Regions from separate parts of the Homo sapiens genome. Here region 1 is linked to region 2. The links are contacts of gene promoters, found by promoter capture Hi-C in blood cells and fetal thymus (Javierre and others, 2016). All regions are on one chromosome and are shown on one strand. Each heading gives the region's core, a stretch centred on a gene start or on the middle of the fragment in contact. The rest is flanking DNA. Distances are from core to core; before and after follow the strand shown. Region 1 holds the start of PPP1R8 (protein phosphatase 1 regulatory subunit 8). Region 2 holds the start of ZDHHC18 (zDHHC palmitoyltransferase 18).

Region 1 (4,172 bases), core at 1,383-3,882, 1.0 Mb after region 2:
TCACTGCTAACTGCAAATGGCTTCAACACCATGTTATGCCTAAAAGGAGCATAGAACCTCAAAGGCCCACACAATTTCTGTAGGTAAAAGTATCTTCTTCTTTTCTGTTAGACTCAAAAACTTTTGGGACTAATTCCTTCTAAAAAATCATGCCCTGTATTCAGAAGAGAGGGACATAGGATTATTTCTGTTTTCTTGAAACCAAGTTTAGAATTTGAATTTTTCCAATCAGCCTAGTCTTACTTTGGAATCACAAGGCTGAAAAGGAGGATATTAACAGGCCATTTGATAAGTGATCTGATTAGTCGCCATCCTTGCTGGATAAGTTTATTGTGCTTTAAAGGCCAGAGGAAAAGGTGTTTCTCCAGTCTACCTAAGAGTTGATAATCTTAAAATCCAAGTTAATGTTATATTGCAGTTACTTTTTTGATCTTCTCACTCCTTCTAAGTTATATTGCAGTTAAATCTTGAGGGCTGGAGACTTCATCAAGGGCAAAAATCTTTTGAATAGGCTGATTTTCTACAGAACCAGTAGCATGGAAGCAAGAAAAGAACTACTTTCATCATAGATTCCTCAACTTGCTGAGCAGTGCCTCTTTCTGGATGAACAGGAACTTAGCAATTGATTTATTTAAAAAAGGAAAAACTGGTCAGATAATCCTCCCAACGCGTCTACAAAAGTGAAAAAGAGGGGCATCAGTTGCATGCTAATAATAAATATAATTATACCAACATCAAAGTGTAAGAGAGAATAGTGACTCATGAGCATGGCCTTCGGCATCATATAGGTTTAGGTTTTTGATCCCACTCCACTTGTTCTAGGGTGAAGCTGGGTAACTCAATCTCTCTAAGCCTCTCCTCTGGAATTATAATAATACCTAACTCAAGAGTATTGTCAGGATTAAGTGAGATGATCCATATAAAATACATACTTGCCCAGGTAACTGCTGAACAGACAATGCCATTAAAACCAGAGGCCCTCCCGTCCAGGAGGGAGGTGGGGGGGGGGTCAGCCCCCGCCCGGCCAGCCGCCCCATCCAGGAGGTGAGGGGCGCCTCTGCCCGGCCGCCCCTACTGGGAAGTGAGGAGCCCCTCTGCCCGGCCACCACCCCATCTGGGAGGTGTACCCAACAGCTCATTGAGAACGGGCCATGATGACAATGGCGGTTTTGTGGAATAGAAAAGGGGGAAAGGTGGGGAAAAGATTGAGAAATCGGATGGTTGCTGTGTCTGTGTACAAAGAAGTAGACATGGGAGACTTTTCATTTTGTTCTGTACTAAGAAAAATTCTTCTGCCTTGGGATCCTGTTGATCTATGACCTTACCCCCAACCCTGTGCTCTCTCCACTCAGGGTTAAATGGATAAAGGGCAGTGCAAGATGTGCTTTGTTAAACAGATGCTTGAAGGCAGCATGCTCATTAAGAGTCATCACCACTCCCTAATCTCAAGTACCCAGGGACACAAACACTGCGGAAGGCCACAGGGTCCTCTGCCTAGGAAAACCAGAGACCTTTGTTCACTTGTTTATCTGCTGACCTTCCCTCCACTATTGTCCTATGACCCTGCCAAATCCCCCTCTGCGAGAAACACCCAAGAATGATCAATAAAAAAATAAAAAATAAAAAACCAGAGGCCCTGCTAATGGTCTCTTAAAACCAGCTGGTGATCTAGGGCAAGCGAGCAATCCTTATGCTTCCTTGCCCTATAACCAAAAGCAAAAAATCCTTTTTAAAAAAATTAACCATTTGAGCCAAGCACAGTGATGATTTGGACCCCTGCTTTCTGACTGGACCTGCTCCTGGCTCCTGCTTGTCCAGAGTTTTCATAAACAGACTAGGTGACCCCTAATGCAGATTCCCTGACAATCTACAGGCCTAAACGTGAATTAGAAAAAAGTGAGTAGGGTGCCACTTTTTGGAGAAGGGCTGAAGAGAAACAATAATCACTCCAATCTCCGAGTTTTGCCCTTTAGCTTCTCCGCTTTGAGGGCAAAAGGCTGACGGTCTTAACCTAAACTCTGGAGGAGGATGTAGTCCCCAGATTTTTTCTTTCTTTACTTTTTTTTTTTTTTTTTTTGAGACGGAGTCTCGCTCTGTTGCCCAGGCTGGAGTGCAATGGCGCGATCTCGGCTCACTGCAACCTCTGCCTCCCGAGTGCAAGCGATTCTCCTGCCTTAGCCTCCCAAGTAGCTGGGATTACAGGCATGTGCCACTACACTCGACTAATTTTTGTATTTTTAGTAGAGACGGGGTTTCACCATGTTGGTCAGGCTGGTCTCAAACTCCCGACCTCAAGTGATCCGCCCGCCTCAGCCTCCGAAAGTGCTGGGATTACAGACGTGAGCCATCGCGCACGGCTTAGTCCCAAGATTTTAGAGCCAAGAAGCGTTTGCAGGAGGACGTAGGGAAAGACTGACTCCCCTCCCTACAAAGCCCCTTTTCCTTTGACACCTCCTGGCCAAGGAAAACCCTAACCACTGGAGACTTCCAGAGACGGCCAACTCGCACAAACGCTGAAAAAAAAAAAATCCCAAAAGCTCCTCTGTCCCCACTAGAAGCACCGCCCCCCGTACGGGCGTGCGTGAGCGTGCGTACGCACAGGCTGCTGGGATGCCGCTTTTCCCTTCTCGGTCTTCCAGTTTCCCGGCGTGCTTAGGGCGCGCCAAATGGGAGGGGGAGACGCAAGATGGCGGCAGCCGCGAACTCCGGCTCTAGCCTCCCGCTGTTCGACTGCCCAACCTGGTGAGTGGCGGGGCGGCCAGGGCTAGAGTGGCCCGGCCGGAGCTAGCCTGGGCTGGAAGGGCGGCTCTTTTTTTACTTTTCTGCTGCGAGCCGAACGGCTCAGAAACCCCGGAATGGTTGAGGAAAAACTGTTTGCTGCACCGGGCCGGGCGACGTGTTGAAGAACCGAGAGCCTGGAGCCCAGGCCCAGGAACTGAAGAAACCCGGGGTTGGGGGCTCAAAGGCGCTCACTTAGGCAGCCCCTTTGAGCGATTAGCCAGTCGCCGGAGCGCTTCGAGGCCTTGGCCCGAACTTACGCCCAACTCTTGACTGAGTGCCTGGTGCTCTCGTGGAGCATCGCATCTGGCCCCTTCCTGTACGTCCCGAGCGCGCTCGAGCCAGCCCCGGCCCCAACCCTACCTCCAAGCCCCGCATCCCTCTGTGGTTGCTGCATCCCTCGTGCGGCACTTGTCTGTCTGCCACAGAGAATACGAGGGTAGGTTAGCGCCATCCCTGCCCTCAGGGAGCTCCCAGTCTGTGGCACTAGTAGGCATTAGTAATGGTTGGCATGAACCCTTTTTATCCCTTCGAAAGTTCTTGGGAATAATGAAATAATTTAATTTGGTCTTTGAGTAGGGTACAAGTTGAATAAATATGAATTACCTTACAAGGAAACGCTTCTGAATTAAGAGTTTTTTTCTGCTGTAGCTCATCGCAGTGTATTGTTTGTTGCTTGTCTCTGTCTCCCGTTGTATTGCCATCCTCAAGGGCAAAGACTGCATCTTTGTATTCCCAGCTCCTAGGCCTGAGTCAGGCACATAGTAGGAATTCAGAAAGTATGTTTTGGATGTAACATTCCTCCTTTTTCCTGGACAAAATGGCCTTTTGTCCGGTGCATTGTCCTTTCCATAGAGGAGGGGTTGGGGCAGGATTGTGAGATGACTGTGTTGAATCTTCAGTTAGCTAGACAAGGATACGTTTTTTCATGTGCAAATCTAAAGGTTCTAGTGAGGTGGTTCTTTTTTCTAACTTCAAATTAGCAAACCCAAAAAGCAAGCAAATGTGTGGCTATTTTCTGGATCGCTTTGCACTTTTGTAGTAGTTGCTTCAGTCTACAAATTCTGTATCCATTTTGATCCCTCGCTGTATTGATTTCAAATTTGGGCCGAGATAGCAAACATAGTTAGAAAGCACTGTTTTTGAGATCACCTACCCTTTCCTTAGGATCTGGTAGGTACCAGGCACCGTTAGGTGCTTTGACATATGAGTCTCCCTTGAATGGTATGGCTGTAGGATATAGAGGAAACGTCCCCTAATCATGCTGTTGTAGAAAGACCTGTTTCAAGGGTAACATATTCATTTGGTACCTGGTTTCATGGGGCATGATTTTGAATTGCCCTAGTTCCCTAATTATGCACCTCTGATTTGGTTTCAGAGCTCAGGACAGTACT
Region 2 (3,902 bases), core at 371-2,870:
GCTTCCTACTCCTCCCCATTGTATATTTTTACTTCCTTTTTTACTTTCTCCTAGTCTCCAGTTCTTTTTTTCCTTGCACTTTTCCTTAGGTTTTACAGTAACCACAGTGTGACAGACATACCCTAAGCTGACCCCCAATGATTCCTGCCTCCTGGTATTTACGCCTTGTGTGATTCCCTTTTCTTGAGTGCAGATGGCTCCTGTGCTTTGCTTTTAACCATAGGAGATGGCAATGATGATGGGATGCCACTCTGTCACATATATAGTAAGTTATATAAAACTCTATCATCATAGTCTGGAGCTAGAGACCCTCATTGTCAGTTTCAAGAAACTAAGTGGCTATGTAGGAGAAACCTGCATGGCAAGGAAATGTGATAATCTCTAGGAACTGCAGGTGGCTTTTGGATCCTGAGAGAGGCCTCCAGCAGACACCCAGCAAAAATCCCAGGCCCTCCTCAGTTATACAGTCACCCAGCAAAAATCCCAGGCCCTCTTCAGTTAAACAGTCGCAAGGAAGTTAATTCTGCCAATAACCCAAATGGGCTTGCAAGTGGATTCTTCCCTGGCTGAGTCTCCAGATGAGAATGCAGCCTGATTGCAGCCTTGTGAGACTAAGCAGAGGACCCAGCTAAGCTGTTCTCTGGCTCCTGACCTGGAACCTGTTAGATAACGTTTGTTTTTTGTTTTTTTTGAGACGGAGTCTTGCTCTGTCACCAGGCCGGGTGCAATGGCACAATCTCGGCTCACTGCAACCTCCACCTCCTGGGTTCAAGCAATTCTCCTGCCTCAGCCTCCCGAGTAGCTGGGACTATAGATGCCGTGCCACCATGCCCAGCTAATTTTTTATTTTTAGTAGAGACGGGGTTTCACCATATTGGCCAGGATGGTCTCTCTCGACCTTGTGATCCACCCACCTCGGCCTCCCAAAGTGCTGGGATTACAGGCGTGAGACACCGCGCCCGGCCGATAATGTTTGTTTTAAGCCTTAAATTTGTGGTAACTTGTTACACAGCAGTAGAAAATGAATACTCCCAGAATTCCTGAAAAAACACTGGGGCCCTCAGGCATGACCCCTCTACATTATGTGCTACCTAGGAAAATCTGGGCCTGGGCCCAGGACACAGAACTTGGTGAACGAGGCCAGAGGGTGTGCCACACACCTCCAGTGGGCACTCTGGACTTCAAGGTAGAAGAGGTCCTGGCTTTCAAAGCAAATCGTGTGCCCCACCTCCCCGCGCCTGCCTGCCTCTGCAAATGCCTGTCAGTTCGACCCTCAGAGATGGGCGAAGCCTGGGGAATTACAGACTGCCAGAAGTAGATCACGAAGTCCACCACCTGAATCTCGGCGTTTGGCACCGTGCCTGGTACACAGTGGACGCCCAACAAACGGCTTGCTTGCAGAACAGAAAGAGCCCTCGAGTGCGCGTCTGCTGGCCCCCTCTTTGTGCAGAAGGGAAAAGGGAGACTGGGAGGGCCGGGGACCTGCGGGGCCCCGCCGCGGGTCAGAGCTGGGCCTCCGGCCAAGCGCCATCCCGGGCCCAGGCGGAGGGGGCGCTGCGGCGGGAGGCCGCGGCGGGCGGTGGCGGCGGGCCGGGGGCGGAGCGATGGCGGGGCCGCCCCAGTGAGTGAGCGAGCGAGCGCCGCGCGCGCCGCCGCTGCCACCTCCGCTGCTCGGCCCGGTCCCGGAGTGGCCCGGCCGGCCCGCGGGGCGCGGAGCCGAGGCCCGCGGCTGGCTGCATGAAGGACTGCGAGTACCAGCAGATCAGCCCCGGGGCCGCCCCGCTGCCCGCCTCCCCGGGGGCGCGCCGTCCCGGCCCCGCCGCGTCCCCGACTCCGGGCCCCGGGCCCGCGCCGCCCGCCGCCCCCGCCCCGCCGCGCTGGAGCAGCAGCGGCAGCGGCAGCGGCAGCGGGAGCGGGAGCCTCGGCCGCCGCCCACGGCGCAAGTGGGAGGTGTTCCCGGGTCGCAATCGCTTCTACTGCGGCGGCCGCCTCATGCTGGCCGGCCACGGCGGCGTCTTCGCGCTCACGCTGCTGCTCATCCTCACCACCACCGGCCTCTTCTTCGTCTTTGAGTGAGTTCCGCTGCCTCGGCGCCCCCTCCCAGCCCCCTGCCGCGCACCCCACCTTCCCAATCCCTGCTGGGCACTCCGTGCCTTCCCCTTCGCCTCCCTGGTCCTCATCCTCCCCGCCCCTTTGGGATCCTCCTCGGGCCTCTTGTCTGCCCCCCTGGCCCCTGCGCACCCCCATCCCCGCCAGATGCCCCATCCTCCTTGGTCCATTTGGGTACCCCATCCGCGCTGGTGCCCTCCACCCTCCCAGCCCCTCCATTCTCCCTGACCCCACCCTGGCACCTGTCTGCCTGCCACTGCCAGGAACACCAGCCTCCATGCCCCTCCACGGCCCCCATCCTCGCTGCCCTCTCAGAACCTGCCCCAGGGCTTCTTGAACAGGCCCCTCCTGCTCACCCATCCCTGGACCATCTCTTGCCAACCCCCCAAGTTCTTTCTGACCCTTGTATCCCTTCCTGACCACTTCTAGATCTTGTGTGTCCTTTGGCTGTGCACACCCACCATAAACATCCTAGTCATCCTCGCTGCCCTCTCCGGGTCCCTCCAGGGTCCCCTCCTTTTCTCTAGTCTCAGACACCAACCCCGCTTTTGCTTCCCCTCAGCCACGCACACCCTAGGCCCCAAGGCATCTTTTCTCAAAATCTTTGGGCCTCTCGGGCCCCCTTTCCTTCTCCAGAACCTTCCTTAGGTTCTCCAGAGCTTCCTGTCCTTCCCTCAGATCCCGCCCGCCTCCACCCAGCCGGCTCCCAGGCCCCTGGCCCCCCTGCTGACCACCTGGCTTTCTTTCCCTGCTCAACATTCTGGAACGTCCCTCTGGCCTGTTCCACATCAGCAACAGCTGCGGTGCCTTGTTGTTTTTCAGGAAAGACTTCGGAGTGCTTTCGTGTGACAGGTCATATTTGCCCCCCTAGGTTTTTGTCCTCTTCATATCCCCCGGTGACCCAGGATTGGCCCACACATAATCTCCATTTTATGGATGGAGGGTCATATATTTGTATTAGAAGTTTTCCACCCACCTCTGAGCCACCTGCACTGTGATTCCTTGCACACACACTCACACGCCCACCCACCCACCCTTGCTTCATAAGCCCTGCTGTCCCCTCCCAACTCCCCATCCTTTGTGGTTGTTCCTCTTAATTATACAGTGTAGTTAAGAACTCTAACAGACCTGGTTCAAATCCCAGCTCCACCACCCACTAATTGCGTGACCTCAGGGCAGTCACTTCACCCCCTCAGTGCCCCAGTTTCCTCATCAGTAAAATGGGATTTATAATAGTACCCACCCCGTAAGGTTGTCCTGAGGGTGGCATGAGGTCACACATGCAAGCTTTTAGCCCAGTAACAAGCACACTATGTTGGCTGCTATTAGTACTTGTGTTGTCTTTATCAAAAAACACTTCCCAAGGGCATGTGGCCATGGTAAGGCTATCATAGAGACACCCGCCCCCAGGTACCCTTTCTAGCTGCCAGATCATGTATCTGCAACTTTGGGTTTCCCCTTGAAGCAAGGTGAAGACTTCCTATAAATTAGCTTCTCCCTTTACCCTTTAACCACACACTCTGCCCTTTTTTTTGAGTAGGGTGGATAAAAAGTTCAGGGATGATTTACAAGCAGAAGCTCTGGGGGGCCCAGAGCTCAGCTCTGGGCTGAGTTTCAGATCCACTTCCCTGGGCTGGCCACATGAGTGTTTTGGAAATGCCTTTTCTAGTATCCCCTGGGCTGCCCTCTCAGTCCCCACACCCAGGGCTGCAGCCGAGGCAGGAGGAAGCAGTACTTGCCGTGGTTGACCCACATGACCCTGCAGTGTGATATCTGGCCTAACTTCTGAACTA

What was found. The method cuts DNA at HindIII sites, captures the fragments that hold promoters and counts their contacts. A CHiCAGO score of 5 or more calls a contact.
Region 1: the fragment with the promoter of PPP1R8 here is called in contact with the fragment with the promoter of ZDHHC18 in region 2 in 4 of 17 cell types (monocytes, total B cells, naive B cells and 1 more); the score reaches 13.9 in monocytes.

What each region holds. Positions count from the first base shown.
Region 1 is chr1:27,828,150-27,832,321 of GRCh38, forward strand. It overlaps PPP1R8 (protein phosphatase 1 regulatory subunit 8), which reads left to right and starts at 2,633. Exons shown (of 7, transcript NM_014110.5): 1 at 2,633-2,742. The coding sequence starts at 2,687. It overlaps LOC124903885 (a long non-coding RNA gene), which reads right to left and starts at 3,634. Exons shown (of 2, transcript XR_007065562.1): 1 at 2,600-3,634; 2 at 1-672. RefSeq lists enhancers at 2,112-2,897, 2,771-2,940, 2,898-3,682 and a silencer at 2,561-2,640. The HindIII fragment of the contact is 9,216 bases long and covers 1-4,172 here.
Region 2 is chr1:26,825,068-26,828,969 of GRCh38, forward strand. ZDHHC18 (zDHHC palmitoyltransferase 18) reads left to right here and starts at 1,621. Exons shown (of 8, transcript NM_032283.3): 1 at 1,621-2,072. The coding sequence starts at 1,738. RefSeq lists silencers at 1,403-1,555, 1,519-1,668, 1,679-1,888. The HindIII fragment of the contact is 7,154 bases long and covers 1-3,394 here.